Regions from separate parts of the Homo sapiens genome. Here all the other regions are linked to region 1. Evidence: promoter capture Hi-C in 16 types of primary human blood cells and fetal thymus (Javierre and others, 2016). All regions are on one chromosome and are shown on one strand. The core of a region is centred on a gene start or on the middle of the fragment in contact, and the rest is flanking DNA. Distances in the headings are between cores, read along the strand shown. Region 1 holds the start of RAB18 (RAB18, member RAS oncogene family). Region 2 has its middle 86 kb from the start of MPP7-DT. Region 3 has its middle 63 kb from the start of MPP7-DT. Region 4 overlaps MPP7 (MAGUK p55 scaffold protein 7).

Evidence for each region. The method cuts DNA at HindIII sites, captures the fragments that hold promoters and counts their contacts. A CHiCAGO score of 5 or more calls a contact.
Region 2: a contact is called between a fragment that was not itself captured here and the fragment with the promoter of RAB18 in region 1, in 1 of 17 cell types (total B cells). The highest score is 6.1, in total B cells.
Region 3: a fragment that was not itself captured here is called in contact with the fragment with the promoter of RAB18 in region 1 in 2 of 17 cell types (naive CD8 T cells and total CD4 T cells); the score reaches 5.5 in naive CD8 T cells.
Region 4: a contact is called between a fragment that was not itself captured here and the fragment with the promoter of RAB18 in region 1, in 1 of 17 cell types (naive CD4 T cells). The highest score is 5.6, in naive CD4 T cells.

What each region holds. Positions count from the first base shown.
Region 1 is chr10:27,500,594-27,506,797 of GRCh38, forward strand. RAB18 (RAB18, member RAS oncogene family) reads left to right here and starts at 3,711. Exons shown (of 7, transcript NM_021252.5): 1 at 3,711-3,844. The coding sequence starts at 3,777. It overlaps LOC124902399 (a long non-coding RNA gene), which reads left to right and starts at 3,852. Exons shown (of 2, transcript XR_007062097.1): 1 at 3,852-4,131; 2 at 4,386-4,499. RefSeq lists enhancers at 3,407-3,676, 3,787-3,846. The HindIII fragment of the contact is 11,751 bases long and covers 1-4,914 here.
Region 2 is chr10:28,386,154-28,392,357 of GRCh38, forward strand. No RefSeq gene overlaps it. Among named protein-coding and RNA genes, the nearest start is that of MPP7-DT, 86 kb to the left of the region's middle. The HindIII fragment of the contact is 6,114 bases long and covers 1-5,283 here.
Region 3 is chr10:28,363,187-28,369,390 of GRCh38, forward strand. No RefSeq gene overlaps it. Among named protein-coding and RNA genes, the nearest start is that of MPP7-DT, 63 kb to the left of the region's middle. The HindIII fragment of the contact is 378 bases long and covers 2,573-2,950 here.
Region 4 is chr10:28,255,342-28,261,545 of GRCh38, forward strand. All of the region lies in intron 1 of MPP7 (MAGUK p55 scaffold protein 7), which reads right to left. Among named protein-coding and RNA genes, the nearest start is that of MIR8086, 31 kb to the right of the region's middle. The HindIII fragment of the contact is 2,595 bases long and covers 2,428-5,022 here.

The DNA.
Region 1 (6,204 bases), core at 2,461-4,960:
TAGGGCTAAAACCCCACCCAAGTGGTCAAAATGACATTTCAGCTACCTTTTCCACAGAATTTACTTCTAACCCTTCTCTCAAATCCCCAAGCCTTCACCCAAATAATTAAACAACGAAATGAACTCCTCTTTAAACCAGGCATGGTATAATGTGCCTGTAGTCCCAGCCACTTGGGAGGCTAAGGAAAGAGGATCTTTTGAGCCCAGGAGTTTGAGTCCAGCCTGGGAAACATAGTGAAACCCTATCTCTAACGACAACAACAACAACAACAAAAAGTAATCTCTTCCTTGACTGCATACCAAAGCTCCTGTGCATATCAACCGAGGCAAGGAGAAGCAGTACCTGGAGAGGGTGGGGGTTGTTTCGGAACCTCAGCTCAGCCAGGGGCAATGGAGCTGGGGGCGGAGGTGGCAATGCTGTATGACTTCTCTCACTACCAACTCCTAAACTCTAGCCACAGACGCCTGTTACACTTGGACCCAAGCAGTCCTACATAAGCCATGAGTCACAGTGCTCATGTTGGTACCTGTTCACAGAATGTGAGTTCTGCAAGCAGCATTTCTCTTATCTTCATTACTGATGCCGAAGGATGGAGAAAAGTCAAAGGCCTGAATCTGTTTTTTTCTCTCATCTGTTGTCTATCTCTGGGGCTGCCCACTGTAGGCATGTTACTGACAGCAACATGGGATGGGCCTTCTCCATCACATCTCCAAGTGGTTTCGCCATTTCAATTTCTTCCTACATACTGGGCTTGCTCATTGCTCATCCCAAACTTCAGGTATTAAGAATATTGCCATAGACATTCCTTTATGAGGTGATCATATATTTGGATATGGTAAAAATAATTAATACTAGAAGATGGATCCACAGGGAAAAGGGCAGTCAGTTATGTCTGAAACCTAAGAAAGGATTTGGCTGTGTTTTCCAGGGATGTAAGGATAATAGTATATAGAAGAGAACACCTAGGCCAAATTGTTGGTTAGAACACCTAGGCCATCTCCTTGGTTCATTTTTTTAGTGTCTTGCTATCTGTCCTGAATCTTGGAACCACTGCTCTAAAAGAGGTCTGAAAAATTTTGCCTTCAAGGCTCACCTTTACATAAAATTCACTATGGCTGAAACGAAACTCATATTCCTTCTTGTTTCTGTCTTGGGTTTTCTCTCAGATTGGTAGTGCCGAGGCTTGAAACATTAGAGAAATGTTCGATGTTTTTCTTTCCCTTTTCTTTCCCCTCTTCTTCACTAAGCATGGGACAGTTATTCATTGTGTCTTTTAAGTACATCTCTTTATTGCCAGCCCCCATGTGGGGATGTCTTGGCAGTTGTGTATGTTGGCCTGAACCTCAGGAGAAAAATCTCAGCCAGAGATGTAAATTCGGGAGGCCGAGGCAGGGGGATTGCTTGAGCCCAGCAGTTTGAGACCAGCAACATAGCAAGACCCCATCTCTAAAAAAATGTTTTAAAAATTAGTTAGGCGTGGTGATGCATGCCTGCAGTTCCAGCTACTCAAAGGCTGAGGTAGGAGGATTACTTCTTGAGCTCAGAAGTTAGAGACCACCCTGGGCAGCATAGCAATATCCCATCTCTTAAAAAAAAAGAAAAGAAAAGAAAAGAAAAAGAAAGAGAGGAAATGGCCAAGAGATGGAGGAAATCCAAGAGAAAATGATATTGCCAAAGTACGTCAACAGTATTACAGGTTGCAAGAGATAGCCCTGGATTTATTGATGAAGTTTTTGTTTTTGTATTTATCTTGGTGTGAATAGCACAGTGCAATGGTTCTCACACTTTTTGGTTGTACAAATTATAGTATACTCTTAAAAATCATTGAGGACCTGAAAGAGCTTTTGATTGTAAGAACCCCAAAGAGATTACATCTCTTATTTATCCTACTAGAAATTAAAACTGAGAAAATTTCAAACATGTTAATTTACTTAAAAACAATAATAAACCTATTACCAGTTAATAGAAATGTTTATGAAAATAACTACTTTAAAACAGAACAAAATTGAGAACAGTGGCAATGTTTTACATTTTAGGAAATCCCTTTAATATCTGGCTTAATATCATAGAAAACCAGTAAGTTCACATATCTTGTTCTGCCTTCAATCTGTTTTGCTATTACATGTTATTAATATATAGCCTCTGGAAAACTCCATTATATTATCATCAGAGAATGTGCATGAAAAAATAACATATTAACTATGAAAATAGTTTGATCTTGCAACCCCCCTGAAAGGTTTTCAGGGATTTCTAGGGATCTCGGGACCCCAGGGCAGGAGAGCTTGACAATACTGTGAACCTCATAAATAAGATCTTTTTGTCATAATGAAAAGTAAGCTAGATAGACTTGACTGAAGTTTCAAGGGCTATCTGATGAGAAGTGGAGGTTGTTTCATTGACATTATTCTCTAAGGTTAGGAATGGACTCTACAACATTCATTCAATTAATTCATTCAGCATACATTTATTTAGCACATATTATGTGCCATGAAGTACTCTAGATACTGAAGACATACCAGTAGACAAAACAAAATATCCTTGCCTTCATGAGACTTCTAATAAAGTAGTAAAATATATAGTGTATCAGAGAGTGGTTAAATCCTATGCAGAAAAACAATGTAAAGAGGTCTAGAGAATGCTGGAGGGATTTGCATATTTCAGTAGAATGGACAGGGAAGGCCTCTTTAAGAATGCAACATTTGAGCGAAGACCTGAAGGAGGAGAAGCCATTGGGATATCTTTTGAAAGGGCTTTTCCAGCTATTTAACAAATTAATTTCTTAACATTTGAAATTTTATTTATATGTAGTCTTTAATCAAATATCCATTGTATATGACATTAGCTGCAGGTATAAGGAAATAAGACAAGAGAACTGAGGTTTATTGAGTGCCTGCCATGTACCAGGCACTGTGCTAAGTATTATGAATGAGGTTTGGTACCTTCACTAAGATTTACAACTTAATGCAGGAGGCAAGGTGTAGACATACACTTCCTGCAGTATGGGTGTAGCAGTTCTTATGAGGAAGGAGAGTTGACTTGAAGTTGCACCGCCAGAAGTAATGCACCTGACCTACCTGAAGTCTACGCCTCCCTTTCAAGATGAATTAGGGTGCAGAGGGTGCTCTCCACTATAACAGAGGGGAAGCCAGCAAGATAATACCTGATCACACCTTTTATAGAGCACTTTGGTTAACAACATGTCTTCACAAATTAACTCACTTAACCTTCATAACAATAAGAAGCAGATGTTCTAAGAAGTGTTACTGTGTCTCTCAGAGATGGAGAAAGGCTAAGAAAGCTGGGTAGTATGACAAGGCAGTTATAAGGTAGAGCTGGACCTAAATTTAAGATAATCTGCTTCAAGCACAGTGCTTTTCCCACCGCAGTGCAGCTGTTATGAGCAGCTGCCGAAATAAAACAGCTTGATATTCTCCTGACTGAGTCCTCCCACTGACTCAAAAGGAGGGTTAGGTTGAGGCTGGGGCGGAGCTAGACCTCAAGAAGAAGCCAACAAAGTCACACACAGCGCTCCCCACCTGCGCTTGCGCAGGGGAGGAACACGCAGTCCGGAAAAACGCCGGGGATTCTGGGTCGCGCAGCCGTGGAGCTACCTCAAGGCGGAACTGGGGAGTCCAGGGCTTCGGCAGCCTGAACACCCGGTGTGAAAGGAAGGTGGCAGACGTGGAGCGGCGCGCATGCGCAGCAGCTCACTCTGCTGAAGGGCTGAGAGGCGCACCCGGGCGGCCAGCTGGGCTCGGAGCGGAACGGGGTCAGGATGGACGAGGACGTGCTAACCACCCTGAAGATCCTCATCATCGGCGAGAGTGGGGTGGGCAAGTCCAGGTGAGGCGGAGGTGCGGGTCGTGACGAGGGTGGCTGGGCTCTTTCTGCCCCGGTGGCTGCTGTCTCCTGGGCCGCGACGGGAACTGTAAACTGCAGCGGCGGGCTCGGGCCGGCTCCGCTCGCGCCCTCCTCGGCCTCTGGGCCGCGCTCTCCCGCGACGTTTGCTTTCCTCTCCCCACCCGCGCCTGCCTGGTTCCCGGCCTTTGCCAGGCCCAAGTTCTCTGGGTCGCTCTCCCTCCTGTAGCGCCGAGAAAACACCATTCCGAGGGCCGCCGCTCGGCCGGCAGGTTTGCTGCGCGGAGCTCAGGGCGTGGCGGGCTGGTTTGGGCCCGAATCCGGCCGGGGGCGCCTTGCCTCGAACCTCTCGGGGTTCAGGCTGCCTGCCACCCCGAGACCCGGGAGACATAGCTTTCCCACTTGAGGGTTTCTGTGGGGCCTTCTCTAAATACATAATGTCCTCGGGAAGTTTCGTGACGCCTTAGGTCCCATTCCTGGCCTGTTTGGGCGCAGCTTAATGTCGATTCTTTTACTTTTTTATTAGTCGGCTGTGAAAGAACTGGATCTTGTGACTGCTGGAAAATTTCGCTTTAGTGTAAGGTCCGAGTGCTTCAGCCGTGGGCCACCTTTGAAAATAAAATGTAATTGTTATTTCTCATTTTGCCACATCCTGTGGAGACAGAAGATTAGTGTTGTGCTTTCATTTTTTACTTTTTCCTTGGGGAAAATAATATTGACAGTGGAGTTGAGTATAAGGTAAGACATGGATCTAGGTGGATGTTGCTAGAGGGCTGTGATTTCATCCAGGTCTTGGAAGAGAGTTCTCCAGCTGATGTCATTCTTGCCATCTGATTATGAGTAGGTTATGTTCAAGGCCGTCCTGATCCTTAAACCACATTTGCACTCCAGGGGCTGTAATCAGTTTCATATTTTAGCTATACCTTCTGATACACGTATCTTTCAAATAATTTTTTGTATTTCATAAATTGAAATAGCCTTAATTCTACAAACTAGAATGAAAGCTCTCCTCAAATAACTTGTAAAAGTCACTTCATAAAGTCTTACTTTTTAAAAGCTTCTTCAGAATTTGAAAGCTTATGTAATATATTCTGATATTATTTACTTATTTATTTATTTATTTTTTGAGACGGAGTCTCGCTCTGTTGCCAGGCTGGAGTGCAGTGGCGCGATCTCGGGTCACTGCAACCTCCGCCTCCCGGGTTCAAGCGATTCTCCTGCTTCAGCCTCCCGAGTAGCTGGGACTACAGGCGCGCACTATCATGCCCAGCTAACTTTTGTACTGTTAGTAGAGATGGGGTTTCACCATGTTGGCCAGGATGGTCTCCATCTTTTGACCTCGTGACCCGCCCACCTCGGCCTCCCAAAGTGCTAGGATTACAGGCGTGAGCCACCAGTTTGACAACACATTTTCATAGTGTTCCTCATGTAATGTCCTCTGTGTCTACTGGAATGAAGGATTTGCACATACCAAGGAATAGAATAATGAAATACTATGAGTTAGCAAACCAGCATGATTTGTCTGTGTGTGTGTAAAAGGCATGAGTAAAATTATTTACATGATCATCTATTATTGCACATACATATTTGAGTGTTAAAAAGTTAAACGTTGTCTTAATAGGAATTTCACAGCCTTGTGATCTTTCTTTTTCTTTTCTCCTTTTTTCCTTGAGATATCGTTCTCATTTAAGTTCAGGCATATGAAATTAGTGTTTTTGAAGTCAAGAATGGTTGGTTGTCATTTCATGTAGTTCAACCCAATACATGGTTGGTTAGCACTTTTTCTAAATGTATTGCATGGATGACAAGTTAGGGTATGTTAAAATTTTCTGGAAGGTTAACTGGAGTATATAAACAAAATTCCTCTGCTCTACCCGCTGTTTTTTTGAGACAGGGTCTTATTCTGTCACCCAGACTGGAGTGCAGTGGCATGATCATAGCTCACTGCAGTCTCAATCTCCTGGGCTCAAGTGATCCTCCCACCTCAGCCTTTTGAGTAGCTGGACTATAGGCACGAGTCACCATGTCTGACTAGTGTTTTTTTATTTTTTATAGAGAGGAGGACTCACTGTGTTGCCCAGGCTGTCTCGAACTCCTGAGCTCAACAGATCCTCCTGCCTTGACCTCCCAAAGTGCTAGGAACATAAGCATGAGCCACCACAACCGGCCCTACTTCTAAAATTTTTTTCATAGATGGGATTTTCCTATGTTGCCCAGGTGGTCTCCAACACACAGGCTCAAGCCAAACTCCTGCCTCATACTCCTAAAGTGCTGGGATTACAGACACAAGGCATGACACCCAACCGAGGTTCTCCTTGTAGAGTAAGGCCTGTTAAGTGGATTTA
Region 2 (6,204 bases), core at 977-3,476, 880 kb after region 1:
ACCAAGATGGTAACAAAAGTGACACCTGGGCATCCTCACTGCTCATTATACACTAATTATATTGCATTAGCATGCTAAAAGACACTCCCACCAGTGCCAAGACAGTTTATAGATGCCGTGGCAATGTGAGGAAGTTACTCTATATGGTTTAAAAAGGGGAGGAGCCCTCAATTCTTGGAATTGCCCACCCCTTTCCCAGAAAACTCATAAATAATTCACTCCTTGTTTAGCACATAATCAAGCCCAAGCTGCTGCTCTGCCTTTGGAGTAGCCATTCTTTATTTCTTTACTTTCTTAATAAACTTGCTTTCAGTTTACTGCAAGGATTCCCCTCCAGTTCTTCACTGTGTGAGATCCAAGAACCCTCTTCATGGGGTCTGGATCAGGGCCCCTTTCCAGTAACTCAAGTGCAGCAATTTTGAAGTTATCAAGAGCACACAGCTTTAGGGAAAGGACAGTGAACAGTGACAGAATGCAGCGAACTAAGGTGAGCATGTGGGAGATACGCAGGCAGAAGCAGTTAGCATGGAGAGATCATCCAGGGATTCTCAGCAGAGTGAGGAGTTAGGGTTTTGTTCAAAGCTCACTGAAGAGCTACTGAGAGGTTCTAAGGAGAGGAGTAACACGTTACGATTTATATCCTTTTGAAAAGCTACTCTCACTGCTGGGTAGAAAGCAGATTGAAGAGGTAGGAGGCAAAGTTAAAAGTGTTTCCTGTCATTGAGTATTCTTTTATCTCCTGACATTTCTGTTCTCCAGTATCATGCTATTGACAATTTCATGTTCCACTTCAATTCCCAAAATGCTCCGTCCTTTTTACAGGTTAAATTTTTTTTATTTTCTTTCTTGCTATTTTTGTTTGTTTGCTCTCTGACTGCATTTCTAGAATCTTAAAGCTCCTGAGAATAATGTTTCTTTCTTCAGGGCATCCTAAACATCTGGATAGGATGCAATAACCAAGTGTAGCCCTGGCCCAGGTGCGCTCATAGCACCGAGGATTGTGTCCTAGGCCCCCACATCTGCTTGGAGACCTATAAAACACTCTCCAGGGAGCATTTGAATGCTTCTTTACTTCCAAGCACTCTAGTTTGTCAGCAAAGGTCTTTCCACAACAGTGATGAAATACTGCGTGTGGCTCCCTGACAAAAGTCTCAGGACACACCCTGCCCTGCCTTAGGGATGGGCACCGACTCTCCCTTAAGCTCAGCGAGCTCGCACAAGCCCTGCCAGTGATCTCCACAGGGCTTACTTGGCTCTTTTTCTGCGCTTCTCAAGCAATGTGCTGACCTGGTCTACTGGGCTGCTGGGATGTCTCGGCTGCCTTGTGCTCCTGGCTGGACATTCTAGGATTAACATTCCTGTACTACCAATTTAGGAAACATAAGTTCACTTGGTGCAGGGCAGAGACACCTTTTTCAATGAGTGAAAATGCCTCTCATCCTAGAGATCTTTCATTTGCCCCTCCAGACCCATTTGCCACCCTTATGAGCTCTCTCAGTCCACAGGAGGCTCTCTGTGGGCACTACACAGTTGTCCTTTAGCATCTGGCTGGGTTAGGCCAATGAAGACCCCAACAGATCAGTGGGAGCAGACTGAGGTCAGAGTTCTTATTCCCCATCGGAGCACAGTGGCTCATGCCTGCATTCCCAGCACTTTGGGAGGCTGAGGTAGGATGACTGCTTGAGCCCAGGAGTTCAAGACCAGTCTGGGCAACATACGGAGACTCTGTACAAATAATTAAAAATAAATTAGCTGGGCATGGTGGCACGCACCTGTAGTCCTAGCTACTTGGGAGCCTGAGGTGGGAGGATGGCTTGATACTGCAGTTGAGTCTGCAGTGACCCATGATTGCACCACTGCACTCCAGCCTGGGTGACAGAGTAAGACTCTGTTAGAAGAACAAATGAAACAAAGGAAGAGAGAGAAAGAGGGGTGGGAGAGGAGGGAAGGGGAAGAAAGGGGAAGGGAGGGGAAGGTGGAAGGGGAAAGGGAAGGGAAGGGGAGGGGAAGGGGGAAGGGAAGGGAGGGGAAGGAGGAAGGGAAGGGAGAGGAAGGGAAGGGAAGAAAAGGGGAGGGGAGGGCAGGATCTTTTTTTTTTTTTTTTTTTTTTTTTTTTTTTTTTTTTAGATAGAGTCTCGCTCTGTCGCCTAGGCTGGAGTGCAGTGGCCTGATCTTGGCTCACTGCAAGCTCCACCTCCCAGGTTAACGCCATTCTCCTGCCTCAGCCTCCCGAGTAGCTGGGACTACAGGTGCCCGCCACCACGCCCAGCTAATGTTTTGTATTTTTAGTAGAGACGGGGTTTCACTGTGTTAGCCAAGATGGTCTCGATCTCCTGACCTCGTGATCCACCAGCCTCCACGTCCCAAAGTGCTGGGATTACCGGCGTGAGCCACCGCGCCCGGCCCGGGGAGGATTATTTTTAAAAAGTAATTTTATCCCCTCCCTGAAGGTTGCTCTCAGGGTTGCAGCCCATCCTGCCCCACAGCCCCCTCTACAAGGCTGTCTCTAGTTCTCCACCCTCCCCTTCCCCTTCCAGGCTTAAGGACAGTAATGTACCTCTGTTGTTACAGGTCCCGGGATTCCCTATTCCTCACCATCTTTGTCCCTTTATAAAATGCTCCTAAAATTATCCCAGTTTGAATGTGCCATCTCTTTCCTGCTAGGACCTTGACAGATACAACTCTCTCCTTGAGAGTCCTTCTGGCCCTCCCGCTGATGGGACATAAGGACATCTGACCTTCAATTGAGAGCGACTTACATCTCACGCCATGCCATTCCTCCTTTCAGCAGGATAGTCCTTCCCAACAGGACCACACTTTATGTCTCCCCAGTCTTTAGGACTGCTTAATTCATTCCACAGAGGACTGTGCCATGTCACACAAATAAAGCCCCACAGTGCACCTAAAGAAGTCCCCTCAACAACCACAGGCTACATGTGCTATTTATGATCTCTCCTTGACAATTACACGACAATGAATGAAGACAAACACTTGGGGGTGTATTACTACACAAAGAGATGAAAAGATGGTGAACCACATTATTAAAGAATAATAATGTCGGGCTCAGTGGCTCACACCTGTAATCCCAGCACTTTGGGAGGCTGAGGCAGGCGGATCACCTGAGGTCGGGAGTTCGAGACCAGCCTGACCAACATGGAGAAACCCCACGGCTACTAAAAATACAAAATTAGCGGGGCATGGTGGCACATGCCTGTAATCCCAGCTACTCAGGAGGCTGAGGCAGGAGAATTGCTTCAACCCAGGAGGCGGAGGTTGCAGTGAGCCAAGATCTTGCCATTGTACTCCAGCCTGGGCAACAAGACAGACGCTCCATCTCAAAAAAAAAATAATAATAATAATAATAATAATAATAACATTAACAACAGTGTTTATTACATGTATACCATGTAGTAGGTGCTTAGTCTAAGCATTTGCCATGTATTAACTTCTTCAATCCTCACAACAATCTTATGAGACAGGGACTGTTGTCACCCTCATTTAATAGGTGAAGAACCCTAGACACAGAGAGGTTGTGTAACTTACCCAAGGCTATACAGCTAGTAATGGCAGATATGGAATTTGAACCAAGGCAATTTGGCTATAAAGTTGATGCTCTTAGGTACAATACTATAAATAATTAAATTATGTGAAATCTTAGTAAGGGGTCCTGGCTTCAATGCTCAGAACTGGCTTGATATTCCTTATGATGGGTTTTGGTGTCCCTTATTATGAAAATATTGGTAAGGAGCAAATAAAATAAATACTGGAAACCTAGACTGCTTAAGACATCAAAAGCACAATAAGAGATTTTAAAATACAATCAATGGCCAGGTGCTGTAATCCCAACACTTTGGGAGGCAGAGGTGGGTTGATCACTTGAGGTCAGGAGTTCGAGACCAGCCTGACCAACATGGTGAACCCTCATCTCTACGAAAAATACAAAAATTAGCCAAGCATGGTGGCGCACACCTGTAATCCCAGCTACTTCGGAGGCTGAGGCAGGAGAATTGTTTGAACCCCTGAGGCAGAGGTTGCGGTGAGCCAAGATTGTGCCACTGCACTCCAGCCTGGGTGACAGAGCAAGACTCTGTCTCAAAATAAAAATAAAAATAAATAAATAAATACAATTAAATACTGTGACATTAGAACACTGGATTTGAGCAAAAGGCATACTTTAAATCCTTGTAATCATTGATTTTGATAAAACAAATTTAGGTTTAAAATAAGTTGTTGATGCACTTATTAAATCTCCTAGGATGCTCATCTTTTTTTTAAAAAGCATATAATTATTTATAGTAATGATCCCCAAATTTTTAGTGCAACAACCAGCAGGGGCTTCGTCATATATGAAGATTCCTGGGCCCCACACAGAATTTCTGAAAAGAAATCCCTAGGGCATCATAGCAGGTGCAATAATGGCCCCTCACAGATGTTCATCCACAAAATACATGAATATATTTTCTTATATGGTAAAAGGGACTTTGCAGATGTGATTACATTAAGGATGTTGAGATGAGGCTGGGCACTGTGGCTCACACCTGTGATCTCAGCACTTTGGGAGGCCGAGGTGGGTGGATCACCTGAAGTCAGGAGCTTGAAACCAGCCTGGCCAACATGGTGAAACCCTGTCTCTACTAAAAATACAAAAATTAGCTGAGCATAGTGGCAGGGACTTGTAGTCCCAGCTACTTGGGAGGCTGAGGCAGGAGAATCGCTTGAACCTGGGAGGTGGAGGTTGCAGTGAGCTGAAATCATGCCATTGCACTCTAGCCTGGGTGAAAAAAAAAAAAAAAAAAAAAAGGATGTTGAGATGAAAATATTCACATGCATTAACTGGGTGGGACCAATGTTATCACAAGGGTCTTTATAGGTGAACGAGGGAGGCAGGAAGGTCAGAGCAGAGAAAGAGATGTGGGCATGAGGATGGAAGCAGAGACCAGAGAGATGCAACCTCCAGCAAAGGAATGCCGGCAGCCTTTATGAGCTGGAAAGGCAAGGAAACAGATTCTCCTCTAAACCATCAGGAAAGCAGAACCCCTGACCCATTTTAGACTTCTGACTTCTGGAATTGGAAGGTAATGAACTGCTGTTGTTTTAAGCCACTAAGCCTTCTTCATTACAGCAGCAAAGGGAAACTAATAAAGGGGTCAGTTCAGAATCTACATTTGTAACAAACCCCCTAGGTCACGGGTCCCCAACCCCTGAGCCATGGATGGGTACCAGTCCATGGCCTGTCAGGAACTGGGCCACAGAGGAGGAGGTGAGTGGTGAGTGAGCAAGTGAAGCTTCATCTGTATTTACAGCTGCTCCTCATTGCTCATATTACCGTCTTAGCTCCACCTCCTGTCAGATCATTGGCAGCAGCATTAGATTCTCATAGGAGCACAAAACTCATTGCGAGCTGCGTGTGCTAGTGATCCAGGTTGTGCACTCCTTATGAGAATCTAATGCCTGATGATCTGTCACTATCCTTCATCACCCCGAGATGGGACCATCTAGTTGCTGAAAAGTAAGCTCAGGGCTCTCACTGATTCTACATTACGGTGAGTCATATAATTATTTCTTATATATTACAATATAATAATAATAGAAATAAAGTACATAATAAATATAATGTGCTTGAATCATCCCAAACCATCCCCAGCCTCCAGTCCATGGAAAAATTGTCTTCCACAAAACTGGTCCCTAGTACCAGAAAGGTTAGGGACCTCCTGCCATAGGTGATTCTGCAACAGTTGGTCTTTGAAGAACTTTGCCTTATAGAAGTAGCCTAGATACAGGCCTCTGACAACAGAACTAAAAAAGGGATTGATGCTTATCTAGCATTTCCTCTTTAAAATGTGTGCTTTTAGAAATCTTTTAAAAATAATACTCTGGTCAATTGTTTTATTTGTTTTAAAAAGCCATTGATTTACCATGTAGATTAGTAATTGACCATGAAATAGTCATGAAAGGAAGTATAGTTAAAGTAGAAAAATCGTGGCATTTCCAGTCAGTGGGACCAGGACCACCCATCACTCCTGAGCTGTGTAAGCTTGTACAACTGTCATAGGTTTGTTGCCCAATGCAAAGTGAACCAATATACCAAGACTCCAGGGGTCACAGCAGAGAAAGAGTTTAATAATAATAATCATAGCCCCGCTGGATGACAGGATGGGAGCAAACCTCAAATCCACCTCCCCACAAGGTTTGGGTATGGGGTTT
Region 3 (6,204 bases), core at 1,512-4,011, 860 kb after region 1:
TTTTGTGTAAACATGCTGGGGCTGTCTCACTATATTGCCTAGGCTGGTCTCAAACTCTTGGCCTCAAGCCGTCTCACCTCGACCTTCCAATGTGGTGGGATTACAAGCATGAGCCACCATGACCAGCTCAGAGCACTTTTCATATATAGTAGTAATGTCTTTAGTTAATATAATTGATTTCGACACTGAAATCTTATTATATTTTGGCCCATTCTCCTTCTCTCTTTCTCTTTCATATTATTGAATTTCTAGAATGCTATTACAACCTATTTAATGTATTTTATGTTATGTATTCATTCAAAATGAATAAAGAGCCTGTTATGGCCAGATACTTGCTATGCCCTGAGAAGATAAAGATAAGGGAATCCAGTCATTATGGTAAGGGCCTATTGTCAGCATTATGTTGAGGAAACATCTGCTAACTTCAAACCACACCTTATTTAGGCCTTTTCTTTGGAAGATGACACCACATGTTATTTTATTTTTATACTTTTCTCCATGTAGAGACATTTCTATGAAGAAGAGGAATGTATCAGAACATGTACTTCAAGCCAAAGGACAATTCTGCAAGAGAGAATGAGAAGTCCTCCCCTGGATCTGATTCTGAATCTTGATTCCAGAATTCACAAGTAGGCTCGGTAGTCACACTGGGTCTCACATGAGTGGGATCTGAGCCTAGGCCCCCTGAACCAACGGGGAAGAGTGTGACCCCAGCCAGGCTGTGATAGGGAGGGTTATAATAACACATACGCAAAAGGCCCCTCAGAGAACACTGCGGAAAGATGAGAAACTTGCATCCAGGACCAGCCTTTCCAGAGGGCAAAAAGGAGACTCTCCCAGCATTTATGTAAGAGTGCACTGCAACACAATTAATAAATATTCTGAAGAAGAGTAAACCCATGGTGAAACCCCTCTACTAAAATACAAAAAATTAGCCGGGCGTGGTGGCACACGCCTGTAGTCCCAGCTACTTGGGAGGCTGAGGCAGGAGAATCGCTTGAGCTTGGGAGATGGAGGATGCAGTGAGCTGAGATCATGCCACTGCACTCCAGCCTGGTGATGGAACAAGACTCCATCAAAAAAAAAAAAAAAAAAACGAAGAAGGAGGAGGAGGAGGAGGAGGAGAAACTACAGTGTGATGTCAACTTCTTTCTCACAACTTCACATCACTGGATAATTGTTTTAAAAAACAGAACAATAAGGCTAGGCATGGTGGCTCATGCCTGTAACCCAGTGCTTTGGGAGCCTGAGATAGGAGGATCACTTGAGGTCAGGAGTTCAAGACCAGCCTGGGCAATGTAATGAGACTCTATCTCTACAAAAAATTTAAAACAAAACAGGCTGAGCATAGATAAAAGTCTACTGGGGAGGCTGAAGCTACTGGGGATGCCAAAGCAGGAGGATTTCTTGAGCCCAGGAGTTCGAGGCTGTAGTGAGCTATAAGCATCACACCACTGTACTCCAGCCTAGGCAACAGAGCGAGACCCTATCTCAAAAAAATAAAAATAAAAAAACAAAGTCTACCACCACCCTATCACCTAAAAGCCATTATTACTGCCTCAGAAAAGTTAGCCAACTTAATGATTATAATTAAGAAAACTTTTCTAACAGAAAGTGCTATGATGATCTATTACACAAATTATTTTGAAAAACATTTTTTAAAAAATGATACTAATGAAAAAAAATCACAACAGGTATAATACAACCTAAACTCATTTACAAGTATGAAACCCCCACACATCCTAGCCTTGATTTTAAAATAATACTGAAATATTTACAAGTCAAACATTCTTAAGTTTATATATATATATATAAAATAAAATACATATATTTTTACAGACAGAGTTTTGCTCTGTTGCCCAGGCTGGAATGCAGTAGTGCAATCTCAGCTCACTGTAACCTCTGCCTCCCAGGCTCAAGCAGTTCTCAAGCCTCAGCCCCCTGAGTAGCTGGGACTACAGGTGCACACCACCACGCCCTGCTAATTTTTTTATTTTTAGTAGAGACAGGGTTTCACTATGTTGGCCAGGCTGGTCTCGAACTCCTGATCTCAGGTGATCTGCCTGCCTCGGCCTCCCAAAGTGCTGGGATTACAGACGTGAGCCACTGCGCCCAGCCTTAAGTTATGTTTAAAAAAAAACATTATAAAAGTGCAATTTTTAAAAATCCTAATGCAAGAAGACAATATGGAGACAATAAAGGGGTTTTATCCTAAGTACTACTTTGGGACCCTGGAAATGTTTTAAAAGACTCAATTGTTGCTACCACGTGACCTGGCTTCATATCTTTTTCCAGTCCAGGTTGTGGCACATGAAATCTAGAGCTCTCCTATTGCCTGCTGTGGAAGACAGAAATTACAGAGGAAGGAGAGGCTCACAGAGAAAAGAAGGAAAAATAATAAGGAAGAGGAAAGACAGAATAGGAAAGAGTTGGAGGAGAAAAACAAAAATAAAACAGGTTGAGAAAAATAGGATAAGTGAAAAAAGGAGGAAGAAGGAGAAAGAGTGATGAAAACAACATATGAAGGAAACTGAAAAGTGAGCTGCTTATGCAGATTTAGGGGTAAAGGAAAAGCTTCACCTCCGCCCTCTGAAAGATGTGCTGAACATGAATGGACAATAGCCAGGTTAATAGAAGAAAACAGCAAACAAATGTATGTAATGTGCATTAGCACAGGGGAGTCACAGAAGGATGATTACCCAGTAACCCAATGAGGCTCAGTTGCTTTTATATCCTTCTTTGTGGAGGAATGGGAGAAAAGGGAAATATGGCTATTTTTAGACGTAGTGAATGATTTATAGGGGAGATGAATGAGCCCCATGCTCAGACAATGGTAAGTAAATGATTCTCTTTGGAAATTGAATGGGATCAGAGAACAGATGATAGTTTGGGACAAAGTTCATCTGGGCTCCAGGTGTGGTGTTTCACTTTCAGTCTCCTCTGTGATACAAGCTTTAATCTTCTCAGGTTAATGAAATTTCAGGGAGGATATTGAAGGCAATTGTGTTCCTTTTTGGCGGGTCCAGTTTCTACCTAGATTAGGGAACTTCAGAGAACATTCTCTTCTTGTGCATTTGGGAGAGACAGAAGGTGAAGAGACAGGAGTTGGAGGTGGGGAGAAGGTCAGAGTGAACTTGAGGCTGCTTCTTTATTTCAGTATGTCAAAGCACCATATTTTGGGGTATCGTTTGCTGATCCCCAACATGTATGCAGTGTTTACATATAATTTGCTTCTATCTTTATAGACTGGGGTGTATAATCCAGTGGTTTTCAGATTTGCTTTCATTGTTACTATTTAAAAAGCTAAAGGGTACAACGTTCATTATTTGGGTGATGGGTAAGCTAGAAGTCCAGTCCCACCAGGATGCAACACACCCATGTAACAAACATGCACGTGCACCCCCTGAATCTAAAATAAAATAGCTAGAAGCTGGGCGTGACTGTTCATACCTGTAATCCCAGCACTTTGGGAGGCTTGGGCAGGTGGATTGCTTGAGCTCAGGAGTTCAAAACCAGCCTGGGCAACATAGCAAGACCCCATCCCTACAAAAAATACAAAACTTAACCAGGTGTAGTGGTGCACACCTGTGGTTCCAGCTACTCAGGAGGCTGAGGTGGGAGGATAGCTGGAGCCTGGGAGGTTGAGGCTGCAGTAAGCCATAATTGCACCACTGCACTCCAGCCTGGGTGACAGAGCAAGACCCTGTGTCATAAAAAATAAAAATAAAAATAGATAGAAAGTCTTATAATTTTCTTTTTCTTCTCACCCACCCATGACATTAATCTAGAATTAGGTGGAGCAGGCAAAAGAGGAGAGATTGGGCCCCTGGGAATTTGTACCGAGTCGCAAATGGCTCATGAGTTACTGAGAACCCTCACTGGAGAACACGTGCCTTGTGGAAACCCTCTTGTGATATAAGCAGCAGGGGCACCCCTGCCAGTTTCAAAATCGTGTGACAAATGGACACAGACCTGTGCCCCCCACTGTCAGAGCCTATCTGCTCTCTACAGGGGCTTCCTTTTGAAGAGTCAAGCTTCTTGCCAAGCTATCTTTCAGCCAAAAACCATTTTCCTCTAGTTTACAGGAAAAAGAGGAAGAAAAAGCCCACCCATCCTTTTCTGGGTTGATTATTTTCCATTTGAAATTAACGAGCTTCCCACGATGAAGCCAAGTTGTTTTGTTCGGATAATGAAATTGCATTTTTGCTTCACACGCAGCAATTCAAACTAACGTGGGCTCCAGCCATTTAGGGAACAGGTCCTTAGTATGGCCAGAAAGAAGGAATGCTACTGTTTTACAGAGATAAAAGTTACATTCAAATTCCTCTCTGAATTTCCCTGCGTATCATGGACAGACAAACTTACAGAGAGACTTTGTTTGTTTTTTGTTTTTTGAGACAGTTCTTTCTCTGTCGCCAAGGCTGGAGTGCAGTGATGCAATCGTGGCTCTCTGCAGCCTTCAATTCCCAGGCTCAAGTCATCTTCTCAGGTTCCCGAATAGCTGGGACTACAGGTGCAGCACCATGCCCGGCTAATTTTTTTACTTTTGTAGAGACAGGGTCTCACTATGTTGCCGAGACTGGTCTCAAACTCGTGGCCTCAACTGATCCTCCCGCCTCAGCCTCCCAAAGTACTGGCATGAGCCACTTTGCTTGGCACAGAAATACTTTAAATATTTACCCAGGATATTTCAAATATGAATCTGTACTTGACGTGTCTACAAGTGGCTGGCTAGTGTTTCCAAAGACGCACTGAAAACGTTGAAAAAATAAAATGGCGACTCCGGATAAGGTATCTGTCACCATGCTATGTTGCACAGAATGCTCACAGGAAAAGCCACACTGCTCTGTGACATTATGATCAAGGAACACGTGCTGAGTGGAGGCTCAGACCATATGGGCCTGTGCATATGGTAATCATTAAAGACTCACAGCTTACAAGAGTAACTGACAGAAAAAATATATATAGTGAGAGTCTCAGTGGTATAAATTCCTCTCTAGACCTCCCACCATATGGGGATATTTAAGTCAAAAGAATTAAGCATCAGAGCTAGAAGCTATTCCTGCACACAAGTAGAAACTACTTTCAGTGAGCAGAATCAGGAAATACGATGACTTGTCTACTCAGGCACATACTTAAAGAAAGTACCCAAACCGAAGGAACTAGAAAGACTTTCGCTTCTTTTGAAAAGAAGGGAAGTGGTGAGTGAGCTTCGGCATTCAGCCCCACCCAAAGAGCTCCCCAGACCTGGGCCACAGTGTCAGGAAATTGCAGCAGAGAGTTCAGAGAGACAGGACTAGGTCCAGCAAAGGAAAAATGATTAAGGGGTCAAAGACAGGGATAAAAGTGGCTTTTTTTCCCCAAATATTGAGTTGGAGTCTTTATTTTTATTTTGTATTTTTATTTATTTTTATTTTTTGAGACGGAGTCTCGCTCGTTAGCCCAGGCTGGAGTGCAGTGGCACAATCTCAGCTCACTGCAACCTCTGCCTCCTGGATTCAAGCAATTCTCCTGCCTCAGCCTCCTGAGTAGCTGGGATTACAGGTACGCACCACCACACCCAGCTAATTTTTGTATTTTTGGTAGAGACGAGGTTTCACCATGTTAGCCAGACTGGTCTTGAACTCCTGACCTCATGTGATCCACCTGCCTTGGCCTCCCAAAGTGCTGGGATTACAGGCATGAGTCATCCTGTCTGGCCAACTTGGAGTCTTGAATGAAAAATAAGAGATACATTTTCAAATTCATGCAAAGTGCAAGCATTTATCTTTGGTAAGCATGGGTTTGCAATCTGAAGAATCTGTAGATTTTTCAGGTGAAGATGAGCAGAGTAGGAAGCAAATATTGTACTTTGACCGATTTTTTTTTTTTTTTTTTTTTGAGACGGAGTCTCACTCTGTCACCAGGCTGGAGTGCAGTGGCACAATCTCAGCTCACTGCAACCTCCACCTCCTGGGTTCAAGCCATTCTCCTGCCTCAGCCTCCTGAGTAACTGGGACTACAGGTGTGCACCACCGCACCCAGCTGATTTTTTTGTATTTTTAGTAGAGACGGTTTCACCATGTTGGCCAGGATGGTCTCGATCTCCTGACCTTGTGATCCACCTGCCTTGGCCTCCCAAAGTGCTGGGATTACAGGCGTGAGCCACCGCGCCCTGCTGGCCAATTTGATTTTAAGCAAAAGGTTTCATTTTGTTACATACCT
Region 4 (6,204 bases), core at 2,475-4,974, 750 kb after region 1:
GACCTCAAATGATCCACCCTCAGCCTACCCAAAGTGCTGAGATAACAGGCGTGAGCCACCGCCTGGCCCACCTTTTTCTTTTTTTTTTTTTCTGCAACGGAGTCTCACTGTCACCCAGGTTGGAGTGCAGTGGCGTGATCTTGGCTCACTGCAACCTCCGCCTCCTAGGTTCAAGCGATTCTTCTGCCTCAGCCTCCCAAGTAGCTGGGAATACAGGCACGTGCCACCATGCTCAGCTAATTTTTAGTAGAGTCAGGGTTTCAACATGTTAGCCAGGATGGTCTCAATCTCCTGACCTCTTTATCCACCTGCCTCAGCCTCCCAAAGTGCTGGGATTACAGGCATGAGCCACTGTGCCCAGCCCATCTTTTTCTTAATTCTACATATTTGTTACTGAAATATAGTTTCCTAGTCAATTTTAACAAACAAAATTCCAATCACAGAGTGCAATGAAATACCTATGAGGATCCAGGAGCACTCTCAGGTTTATGGACTAACTATGAATATGTCAAGTACTCATTAGTGGTATCCTAAAAAGTTTGTAGAGAGGCACTGGGAGGTGAAGAGGAGAGGGAAGAGACCATAGTATGAGTGTTTTACTTCCTTTATACTTAGTGAAATATACTTCATACAAATCATCCTTTGGAACTCATGGAATACCCTGAAAATTCTACTATCTGGAAAGACATACATGGTTAATTTTCTTTGCTCTGACAATCAAAACTGTGCCTACCTGAGGTCAACAGTATACTAGGAGTGTGAAAAGGGAAATTTTGGAATATGGAACAACTTTGGAGAGGGAATTTCTAGATAGGGAGGATATGAAGACAGCAGCGGCTCAAATGGCAGAGAGAAAAGTTACCAAGGTCAAACACCACTACCCAGACACTTTCTATATAAAAGACCTATGCAGATGCTGTAGCTAAACCATTAGGACTACTGCCCTGCAACTCCACATTGCCATACATTTTCAGTTGCTTTCAGGGAAAAAAAAAAAAAAAAAGCCTATTAATTCTAATATTAATATGAATTCCAATAACAGATTAAATGCACCCCCAGAAAAATACTCCAGCCAAGATTCTACTTCTAAGAATTTCACTGCAGACATAATTCACACAGGTAAACAAATATATATATGTGCAAAAAAACTGACTAAGCATCATTAGACAGGAAAAAAAAGTAATGACCTAAAATGTTCATCAATCAGGCAATGGTTTTAAAAAATAATAATAATGAAAAGTGGCACAGGGAGGAGGATGGGATATAAAATTGGACTCGTTTTTAGGCTATAATCTTTCTACCTTTCTTATTTCACAATGAGTATTTATTCAAGTCTTACGTATATAACTAAGAACAGAAAAATCATACATTCTATTAATTTTTTAAAATTCAAATGGCAATCATGGCCCACAGTTCCACTGTAAGTCTCAAAGCCTATTTAATCTATCATTGTACGCCATCCATTTATATGAGAATCTGTGTGTCTTTCTCCTCCATTAGACTATAAATTCCTTAAGAACCAAGACAAATAATAAGTCATCTTCCCCCATGCCCAGTACAGAGATGCTCATTCAATGTATGCCGAGTGAGTAAATGAAGAGACAAATTCCTATTTGATCTAAGCCTCTGCAGGTAACCACAGTTGGCTACAGTCATGATTACAAGTGCTCTGAGTTATGTCAGCCTGACCCACAGAAAGGAGAAAGATAGTTCTCAGAAACAGCATAAGTTTCAACATATTCCACAATCCCTGAGAAGGTTCTAGGCTACCTACATCAAACCTATCCCTTTCCAAGATCACCCACAGATTAAAACCAATGACAGCAGTTGAGATGTCACAGTATTAAAAAGCAACAAGCGCAATTCAGCGTTTCATGTCATGACACGAACTGGAAATAATATCATTTATCTGGTGCCTGGGAGGGAAGGTCTGAGCTTGGTGAAACCAATCAAGTATGTCTTCCTTATATTCTTTAATTATGATAAGGAAACTGAAAACCAACATATTAAGGAAGATATTAAACACAGAATTTATATAAAACTCCCAAAGAAAACCTTCTCAGATATCTTCATAGAAAATAAAGCTTGTTCATGTCCTTTGTAGGGACATGGATGAAATTGGAAATCATCATTCTCAGTAAACTATCGCAAGAACAAAAAACCAAACACCGCATATTCTCACTCATAGGTGGGAATTGAACAATGAGATCACATGGACACAGGAAGGGGAATATCACACTCTGGGGACTGTGGTGGGGTGGGGGGAGGGGGGAGGGATAGCATTGGGAGATATACCTAATGCTAGATGACGAGTTAGTGGGTGCAGCGCACCAGCATGGCACATGTATACACATGTAACTAACCTGCACAAAGTGCACATGTACCCTAAAACTTAAAGTATAATAAAAAAAAAAAAAAAGAAAAGAAAGCTTGTTTCCATGAACGTAACTCTTTTTTATAACAGGTTCTATGTCTGTAATAGCTACATGCAATTCCTGATCAATACAATGTGATATCTCCACATTTCTGACAAACCCCCATGAACATTAAATTTTGTTTAATGGGGGGCTCTGTTTTGGCTTCTCAATGAGAAAAGGGCAGACATTCTGCGGGGAGTAAATATAATCATTTCTAGGTAAGGTATTACAGTCCTGTGCTGACACCTTACAGTACACAAATAACATAAACATACACATCTGCAGAACTTGACAATATTGAGTATTTATGCAGCTATTATTTCACACTTAACCCACACCTTCTAAGGTAGGTTACACCTCCATTCCATCCTTCCCATCCCAGATTCTATAAGAAGGGGACAGACACAAGTCTAGAACCCGATGTTCCTTCCACTTCGTCACACTCCTGTCACCTTTTCAAGTAGAGTCAAGGTGAGACCACCAAGAAGACAAGAAAGGTTAAAAAAAAAAAAAGGCATTGCTGCTATTAATACCAAAAGTCTACAGTTTGCCTATATATACTACTATCTAGTAAATTTCCTATTATACTTAGGACTGATAAGATATAAATAACATATTAAATATTATATATATATATATATATATATAAATTTTTTTTTGAGACAGAGTCTCACTCTGTCACCCAGGCTAGAGTGCAGTGGCATGATCTCAGCTCACTGAAACCTCAGCCTCCCAGATTCAAGCAATTCCCCTGCCTCAGCCTCCCAAGTAGCTGGGATTACAGGCATGCCCCACCACACCTGGCTAATTTTTGTATTTTTAGTAGAAACAGGGTTTCACCATGTTCACCAGGCTGGTCTTCAACTCCTGACCTCAAATGATCTGCCCACTTCAGCCTCCCAAAGTACTGGGATTACAGACTTGAGCCACCGCGCCTGGCCTAAATATATATTTAAATAAAATATATTACATTTTACTCCTATTAGTTTTACTAAATGGCAATTACAGGTATCCAAAGAACATTTACTGAGCAACCACCAGGCACTATGCTAGAATCAGAGATATCACAGTGTATCTCCTGTCTCTACTCCTGTGGAGTGGGAGAGAGAGCTCTCCACACAGTGGAAAAACAGAAATCCCTATTTCTGTGAAAACACCAAGTTATTACTGCACTAAACAGCTGCTAAAGGGAAAAAAGAAAGAGCCTTTGTGTAACATGTCTCAGAACTTTTACTCAGAGAATGAGAAGGCTCAGGACTCAAACTTACAGGTGAAACTGCACCTCTAATGTAGACAGCCCACCACCATTCATCCTCCACCAGGTTTTTTTTTAACTCTAAAATATATTAATGAATTTAAACAGAAACAGCTGTTTATCAGTCACCTAAATTAGTAGTTCTCACACTTTTGATCATTCATATGCCAGCCTCACAATTTTTACATTACATACAAAACTACTTTTTTACTTAACAATTTTCTTACACAGAGTTATTTTATTTAAATACCTATTTTAGACTCCTTTTAAATACCTACAGTGAGGCCAGGTGCAGTGGCTCACACCAGTAATCTCACCACTTTGGGAGGTCTAGGCCAGCGGATTGCTTGAGCTCAAGAGTTCGAGACCAGCCTGGGCAACATGGTGAAACCCTGTCTCTGATAAAAATACAAAAAATTAGCCAGGCGTCATGGTGCACGCCTGTAGTCCCAGCTACTTGTGAGGCTGAGGAGGGAGAATCACTTGAGCCCAGGAGGTGGGACTGAACCACTGCAGTGAGCCGAGATTGCACCACTGCACTCCAGCCTGGGTGACAGAGAGAGACTCCATCAAAAAGAAAAAGAAAAAGATGAGGGGAGGGGGAGGGGAGAGAAGAGAAGGATGCAGGGAGGCAGGAGATGAGTTAGTTATGTTTTCTAATATGCATGAAAATAAAAGCATATGGGCAGGTGCAGTGGCTCATGCCTGGAATCCCAGTACTTTGGGAGGCTGAGGTGGGAGAATCGCTTGAGCCCAGGAGTTCTAGGCCAGAGCGTGGGCAACATGACAAAATCCCATCTCTACAAAAAAATACAAAAAATTAGCCAGGCACGGTGGTGTGCCCCTGTAATGCCAACTGCTCAGGAGGCTGAGGTGGGAGGATCACCTGAGTCCAGGAAGTCAAGGCTGCAGTGAGCCATGATTGTGCCACTGCACTCCAGCCTGGGTGACAGAGCAAGAGTCTGTCACTCTGTCCCCCATAACAAGAAAAGCATAGTGCTTAAAACAAAAACTCTTCATTAGAATACTTCAGAAATAACCCTGCATGTCCATACTTAGGAAACATTGATATTTAACAAAACAAACAAAAACACAGAAAACACTATATTAGCAGCTATTTATAAATACTGTTACAATAATTTTATGGCATTATCATCATCGACATATTTGAGTCCATCCCTCTTTCTACTTGTTAATTAATACATGCTTAATTATCTAAAAAGTATTCAATCATTTCCAGTGGCAATTCATCCATTCCAGTCTCCCTGGCTCTCTATAAATGATCTATGTATTATATTATGTATTAGTCTATATGTATGCATTAGTTAATGATCTGAAGCAGTTATACAAAGCTTCCTTATACCTACAGACTATAAATGGTTCTTTCCTTCAATCACTTGTCAAGATAAAGAAATCTAAAACATATGAAAATACCAGAGACTATATTTAACTATGTTCTAACCAAATAGTATGTTTCTGGCCAGGCATGGTGGCTCATGCCTGTAATCCCAACACTTTAGGAGGCCAAGGTGGGCGGATCACCTGAGGTCAGGAATGAGACCAGCCTGACCAACAGGGCAAAACCCTGTCTCTACTAAAAATACAAAAATTAGCCAGACATGGTGGCACATGCCTGTAGTGCCACCTACTCAAGAGGCTGAGACAGGAGAATCGCTCGAACCTAGGAGGCGGAGGTTGCAGTGAGCCAAGATTGTGCTGCTGCACTCCAGCTTGGGTAACAGAGAGACTCCATCTCAAAAAAAAAAAAAAAAAAAAAAAAATTTTTTTTAAATAGCATGTTTCTTCTGGCACAATTTAAAGTGAAAGTGAAAAGGCTCTGTTTTCTACATGATGCATTTCAACTCAGTGTGAGTTGATTTATTTTATGCCCAATTGATGTTAGAGAAAGAATTCAAATGGTTTTTCCAAGTATGTAAGGTGCCTACAAAATTACACTATAAAATTTATTCTTTAATAGCCTAGTTCTTTACCAAAGCAATTAGTTTTCATAAGTCACTCCAGCAAATCACAAAGCCAGATGGGTCCCCAATTCAATCAATTATCTTTAATCTTTCAACTAAGAAAAATTGCTCTTTATATACTTTGTCTCTGTAGTTCTCTTTCCAGAATTAACCATTTTGGCAGTGATGTATGCTTGTTAGCAAAAGTAGATCCTACACACAGGTGAGAAAACACAGAATTAACTGTGAACACTTTCCTTCCTAGCAAGGTGAGCAGAACACTGAACCATGACTTAACGAAAGACTGCCCAAGTCATTCACTGGGGTGGAACCCTATGGTGTTTATCACAAACATACTTCCCACCAACACGGTGGCTTTGCGCTCCACTGGCCAGTGCTTTTTATATTGAAATGAGTCAAAGACCAGATCCAGCGCAGTCACCATAGTTCCACTAAGATTTAAGCGAGGCAAACCATTGTCCCTGCCATTCTATCCTAAATGTGGTCATAAGTGGGACAGCAGAGAAAGCCACAGTACTTATCCAAGGTTGCAACACCTCCACTCTTCTGC